Regions from separate parts of the Homo sapiens genome. Here region 1 is linked to region 2. Evidence: promoter capture Hi-C in 16 types of primary human blood cells and fetal thymus (Javierre and others, 2016). All regions are on one chromosome and are shown on one strand. Each heading gives the region's core, a stretch centred on a gene start or on the middle of the fragment in contact. The rest is flanking DNA. Distances are from core to core; before and after follow the strand shown.

What was found. Contacts are between HindIII fragments. The CHiCAGO score rates a contact against its expected background, and 5 or more counts as called.
Region 1: a contact is called between a fragment that was not itself captured here and the fragment with the promoter of FBXO21 in region 2, in 1 of 17 cell types (non-activated CD4 T cells). The highest score is 6.3, in non-activated CD4 T cells.

Annotation. Positions count from the first base shown.
Region 1 is chr12:119,661,871-119,665,358 of GRCh38, reverse strand. All of the region lies in intron 1 of PRKAB1-AS1 (PRKAB1, TMEM233 and CCDC60 antisense RNA 1), which reads left to right. Among named protein-coding and RNA genes, the nearest start is that of PRKAB1-AS1, 4.5 kb to the left of the region's middle. The HindIII fragment of the contact is 1,101 bases long and covers 1,638-2,738 here.
Region 2 is chr12:117,189,056-117,192,185 of GRCh38, reverse strand. FBXO21 (F-box protein 21) reads left to right here and starts at 1,716. Exons shown (of 12, transcript NM_015002.3): 1 at 1,716-1,968; 2 at 2,824-2,959. The coding sequence starts at 1,730. RefSeq lists silencers at 1,500-1,559, 1,600-1,699, 1,980-2,029 and an enhancer at 2,500-2,589. The HindIII fragment of the contact is 6,345 bases long and covers 1-2,988 here.

The DNA.
Region 1 (3,488 bases), core at 939-3,438, 2.5 Mb before region 2:
CAGGAAGTATAACTGTTAGCACATTGCTGTGTAAAAGGCATCATCTACTCACTGCTGTCTGTCTGGCACCAGGGCAAAGACAAATGATAAATACCCTAGATTCTCCCCCAAACAAACCAGGGCAATTTTAACACAGCCACAGCTAGGAGTACCCCTCCCCCACCCCCGCAACCCTGGCTTCAAATTCACTCCAGCTCCAAGCACAAAAAGAAGTAGGTTTTCAAGTCCTTAAAAGTCACCCAGAGTGAGATAAAATCTCATTTATCCTTAAATTTATGATTAAAAGGGTTAAGGATAATGTTTTGGGGCCTCCTCCATAGGATGGATTAGAATCAGTATAGCACTTCTGAACTGACCAACCCATTTGTTTTATATAAGGAAGAGTCTAAGTCCCAGAGATCGAACAGTTTTGCCTGAGGTCACTCAGATGATCATAGGTCATACTGAGACTGAATTCTGGATCACCTGGCCACTCCCCACTACATCATGGTCATGGCACCTCATCAAAAAGACCTTTGGTTCCCCAGCTGGCCTGTCTACAAACATTTGTACTGTTCTGAAGAACCCTCCCCATCTAAGAACAGCCAGGGCTCTGATCACAAATAACTCAATGGCAATATTGAGTGCCAATTATGAGCCAGGCACTGTTGTAACTCTTGGTTACAACAGTGAACAAAACCAAGTTCTTGCCCTCCAGAGGAAAGAGTCCACACACATATGCACATGTGGTGAGAACAGGCAGTGTTCTCACTAAACATCGGTAGCTGGAGGAAGAAATTTCACATTTGGACTATGCTGTAGACTAAATTGTATCCCCCCAAAATTCATACATTTGCACTCCCACTCCCAATTTTATAATGTTTGGAGGTGGGGCCTTCAAGGGGTAATTAGGGTTAGATGAGCTCATGAGAGTGGGGCCCCCATGATGAGATCAGGGTACTTATGGGAAGAAGAGACGCTGGAGAGCTTGCTCGCATGCTGTCTATTCACGCCCATGCTCAATGGAAAGGCCATGTGATGACAAAGCAAGAAGGCGGCCATCTGCAACTCAGGGAAAGAGCCCTCACCACACATCAACCATCCTGGCACCCTGATTGTATTAGGCCATTCTTGTATTGCTATAAAGAAATATTTGAGGTTGAGTAAGTTATAAAGAAAAGAGGTTTACTTGGCTTATGGTTCTGTAGGCTGTACAGCAAGCATGGCTCTGGGTATCTGCTTGCTTCTGGTGAGGCCTCAGGAAGCCAAGGGGGAGCCGATGTATTGATGTATCACATGGCAAGAGTGGGAGTAAGAAAAAAAGTGGGAGGAGGTGCCGCACGCTTTTAAACAACCAGATCTTGTGAGGGCAGCACCAAGACGATGGTGCTACACTATTCATGAGAAGTCCACCTCCATGATGCAGTCACCTCCCACCATGTTGGAGGCCTCACCTCCAACATGGGATTACATTTCAGTGTAAGATTTAGGGGGAAAAGTATCCAAATTATATCACTGATATTAGACTTCCAGCTTTCGGACCTGGGAGAAGTAAATCTCTGTTGTTTAAGCCACCCAGTTGATGATTTGTTATAGCAGTCTGAGCTGACTAAGACAGACTCAAATGTGTGTGGGCTGCTAGGATAGAATTACAAGCTTACTTTTAGGGCTTAACCAGATTTCCACCAGGCCTTCTGAATTTTGCCTAGCCAATGTAAGTAACACTGCCAATGTTTGAGAAACTTGTCCATCTTTTCTTGCTAGACATTCTTGTGTTCTCTTTGCACTGAGATGTGAATATTGTGACAGAGAGTCATCAACATAGAATTAAAAGAAGTTCATTCTACAGCATTTGGTCTACAACCTTAATTGGCAAATAGCCTCATTTTGTGACTTTTAGGTTGTCTGAGAAAATTCTGTTTCTTGACCTGGGTTGGTAATTATTAACATGTTTGCCTTGTAGTAACTTACTAAGCCATACATTTCTTTTGTGTAGTTTCCTGTATCTTTATTTTATTTTCAATAAAGTTTTTTTTAAATAAATAGCTTCACTCACAGGGTAAGCTGAAACCTAGAAGGGAGAAGTGCCCAGTTCAAGGTAACACAATGTTCTTAATAAAGTTCACCTCAAGTCTATCCTCTTTTTTTTTTTTTTTGAGATGGAGTTTCACTCTTTTCACTCAGGCTGGAGTGCAGTGGTGCAATGTCGGCTCACTGCAACCTCCGTCTCCCGGGTTCAAGCGATTCTTCTGCCTCAGCCTCCCAAGTAGCTGGGACCACAGGCGCACCCCACCACGCCTGGCTACTTTTTGTATTTTTAGTAGAGACGGGGTTTCACCATGTTGGCCAGGCTGGTCTCAAACTCCTGACCTCAGGTGATCCACCCTCCTCGGCCTCCCAAAGTGCTGGGATTACAGGTGTGAGCCACTGCACCTGGCATCTCTATCCTCTTTTAAGAGCTTTGAAGGAATGGAGGAGAAAAGGATGTACACTTTCTACCCCTTTTCTAGAGGACAAGTGACAAACTAAAGCAGTATCCAGGCAAAGATCCAACGGAGGTGAAAACAATGAGAGGAAGTCTGTCTCTGTCTCATCTCTTTAAAATGTAAGCTCCCAGGGATTTGAATATCAAAGTTTCATAATCACTTTAACATATGCTGTTGGGACCATCATACCCCATCTGCATGTGCCCTTCTGCGCATGCCCCAAACTTCCTAACTGTGAGCAGGTGCAACTCTGAGGGCCTTCTGGAGAAAGCTTTGTCGACACAAGTGGGAACCCAAGGGGACCAGAGAAGACACCCTGAGAGAAGCCCTCAGCCAACCACAGAGGAGCCAGTTCCCTTGCCCCTTGGATGTGCTAACTCTAATGAAGCAGCGTCATTTTTCTGGGGTAACACCCGAGGTTCGATGTCTCATGCTAAGGAAATTGAAGACATGGCCATGCAAGGAGTGGGTTTAAGAGTGGAAAGTTAAATAGATGAAAGAAGGAAGAGAGCTTCCTCATGCAGAAGAAGGGGTCCTGAGTGGGTTTCCCTGGTTTGGGGCAAGGTGTGGTTGGTTTTAGGGATGAGCGTGAGGAGATGGTATATGATTTACATGGGGTGTAGTGGATTGGTTGGACCAGATGTGCCATTTTCATAGCCCGTGAAGAGGCTGGTCATCCCACTCTAATCTTTTATTATGCAAATGGAATTTTAAAAAACCTGGCTGGTGCCATGTTATCTGCACACGTGGCAACAAAGAAAAGGGAAGAGGGAACCTCCATGTTGAATATACCTGGTTTCCAGCTATCTGTTTTCTATTGGCACAGCTGCTGGTATTTACCTATGCAAGCCTCTAGCTTGCTTATCTATGCTTGCAGCTTGATTTTTCAGGCTGCTTTTTGTTAAAAAAAGAAATGATTTGGAGACTGCGTTTTTATTAAAAGAAAAACCTTACTGAGGACTCTCTTACCCTCACTAACTGTCTAAATAATTTCTTTTTAGCTCTCGTATAACTAAGATATAT
Region 2 (3,130 bases), core at 467-2,966:
AGGAGGAGCTACTGGAAGGGGAGGACTGCATGAAGTGCCTTGCAGGCAGCAGGAATAGTATATGTAGGGCCAGAAATGGGAGGAAAGAGATGACCAGCCTTGCTGGGGTATGCATGGCTAGTGAGAGAGAAAGACTTCAGATAGGTAAGAAGAGGTGGAGTTTGTTGCTTTGCAACAATGTTTGGGATGTCACATTCATTTCTACGGGAAATAGGGAGCCACAGATGGCTCAACGCCATCCATTGAGAGTCACTTTACTAGTTCAGCTCTCTCAGGGCATCTTGATTTCCAAGTTGCCAGGAGTACTTCATTGGACCCTCCATGTACTGACAACAGATCCTTCTAACTGTAATTGCACTTTGAGGTTTTGAAGCAAAGACTCCATTTTTCTCACCCCTGTATCCCCAGGGCACACAACACAGGGCTTTGGCACTGAACTAAACTGATTTTTTTTTTTTAATGTGCAGATCCTGAGACTACCCTCCCAATCCTGAGTGATAACTCCCGCTTTGAAGACTCAAATCCAGGCTTTAGCACTTTTGTCTCTGTAACTTTGAACCAGTGACTGCCACCTGGAAGAACTTTGCCTTTTCTGTAGAATAGGTATAACTGTGGTACCTATTGTGGGAGGTCAGACTATGCTCCCCAAATATGAAGGATTGTTGAGCTGGAAACAATTAAGAAACCAGTACAGGAGAGCTCTCTGCCTGCCCTCTATTAGCCTAAAATCAGGGCACACATTTGAGGATTATTATTACTCCCCTACACCATCATAGAGGGCTTCCCATAGCACCCACTCAAGAATATTGTTATTATTACATCATATGGTTAAGATTACTGACAAGCAAAAGTCAAGTGGATCTGAAATAGAATCCAAGACAAGGGGCTGGGCGCGGTGGCTCACGCCTGTAATCCCAGCACTTTGGGAGGCCGAGGTGGGTGGATCATTTGAGGTCAGGAGTTCGAGACCAGCCTGACCAACATGGTGAAACCCTGTCTCTACTAAAAATACAAAAATTAGCTGGCTGTGGTGGCGGGCGCCTGTAATCCCAGCTACTCGGGAGGCTGACGCAGGATAATTGCTTGAACCAGGGAGGTGGAAGTTGCAGTGAGCCGAGATCACGGCCACTGCACTCCAACCTGGGTGGTGGCGCGCGCCTGTAATCCCATCCGCACGGGAGGCTGAGGCAGGAGAATCGCTTGAACCCAGGAGGCAGAGGTTGCAGTGAGCCGAGATAGCGCCACTGCCCTCCAGCCTGGGTGAGAGCAAGACTCCTTCCCAAAGGGGGAAAAAAAATCCAAGACAAGGGATCCTGAGCAAGCCCTCTCACTCTCCGAACCTGTTTCCCCATCTGTAATATGGGGAGAAAGTTCGCAGGGTAATTCGGAAAGGTCCAATGCGCACAGAAAGCGCTCAGCACGCGTGAGAATAGATACCATTTTTATTTGTTAATTTTAAACATTAATTACGTTTAAAAGAATCAGTGCTACTATTGTTGTCCCGGACTAGAGGCGGCTTGCGCTGCCGGCTCCAAGCACAGAGCCCAATTATGTCCTCCCTTTTGCGGCGCTGCCACCCGCGCAGCCCCCAGCCGATGCAGGGGAGGTGTGGCCCGCGGATGGGCGGAGCGATCTCAGGACTCGCCCCCAAGACCAGTAGGCGGGGCCAGGCGGGGCGCCCGGGCACTCTCGCACGCGCGCGCGCGGCGGCCCCAGGTACGCGGACAAGATGGCGGCGGCAGCAGTCGACAGCGCGATGGAGGTGGTGCCGGCGCTGGCGGAGGAGGCCGCGCCGGAGGTAGCGGGCCTCAGCTGCCTCGTCAACCTGCCGGGTGAGGTGCTGGAGTACATCCTGTGCTGCGGCTCGCTGACGGCCGCCGACATCGGCCGTGTCTCCAGCACCTGCCGGCGGCTGCGCGAGCTGTGCCAGAGCAGCGGGAAGGTGTGGAAGGAGCAGTTCCGGGTGAGGTGAGCCAGCGGCCCCGCGCCCCGGCTGCGCGCCCACCGCCCCGCGCCCCCCGGGGCCGGGCAGCCGCCCCGCTAGCTCCCCGCGGCCGCCCCGCGCGCGGACCCCACCCCGGACCCCTTCCCGCGGACAGACAGACAAAGGCCTCCAGGCCCCGGACCCTGCGGGGCCACGCCAGGCGGACCCCCGGGTCCCCAAATGGCGCATCTAGGAGCGCCTCGCAGCCGGGTCCTCCGTCAAGGGTGACGCTGGCGGCGGCGCGGCTCGTCCCTTTTGCGCGCTTCTTTTGTGCCCGACTTCGGGCTGAAATGTTTACATGGACCCAGTGATGCATCGATCGGGCGGGCGCAGCATCCCCGGGCTGGTTGTGGACGGCACAGATTTCAGCGTGGCCCCAGGATGAAATCTGGCCCTGCACACTCCCTCTGTGACCTTGGGGGGAGCGACTTCCCTTTTTTTGAGCCTCGTTCATAGACTTTGAGTGGTGGTGATCATTAGACCTACCTTTCACCGTGTTTATTAAATTAGATGATGTCCGGGAGGCACGCACGCAGGGCCCCGGCTCCTAGGAGGCGCTCAATCAGTGCTCACTGTCATTGTCATTATTATTATTGTTGTTGTTGTTACAACTGTCCCCATTTTAGAGATGGGGAATGGAGACATCATTCATGCCGCTACGCCAAGGTCACACCGGGAGTGAGTGAGTGAATGCTGGTGGGGTTTTGAACTAGGTCTCTCGCCGGGGTCCCTCTTACCACTGGACGCCACTGCTGTCCCTGTTTCCAAGGCTGCCTTGGATTCGTGGCCGCCTGCCTTTGAGTTTCTGTTAAGCTGAGGGGGTGTTTCTCTCCTCGTAGGTGGCCTTCCCTTATGAAACACTACAGCCCCACCGACTACGTCAATTGGTTGGAAGAGTATAAAGTTCGGCAAAAAGCTGGGTTAGAAGCGCGGAAGATTGTAGCCTCGTTCTCAAAGAGGTTCTTTTCAGAGCACGTAAGGATCTGTTGATGTGGCTCTAAGCTTTGGCTTGCTGGTGTATGTGTCTGGGTCTGCAGGCATGAGCTCATCCAGCTCTTTTCGTATCTCCCTTTTCAATGCTCTCACAATCCCTTACTCACTTAGATGGCTGCAAGAGTCATTGTGTCCTTTTCCTCCTATCCAACA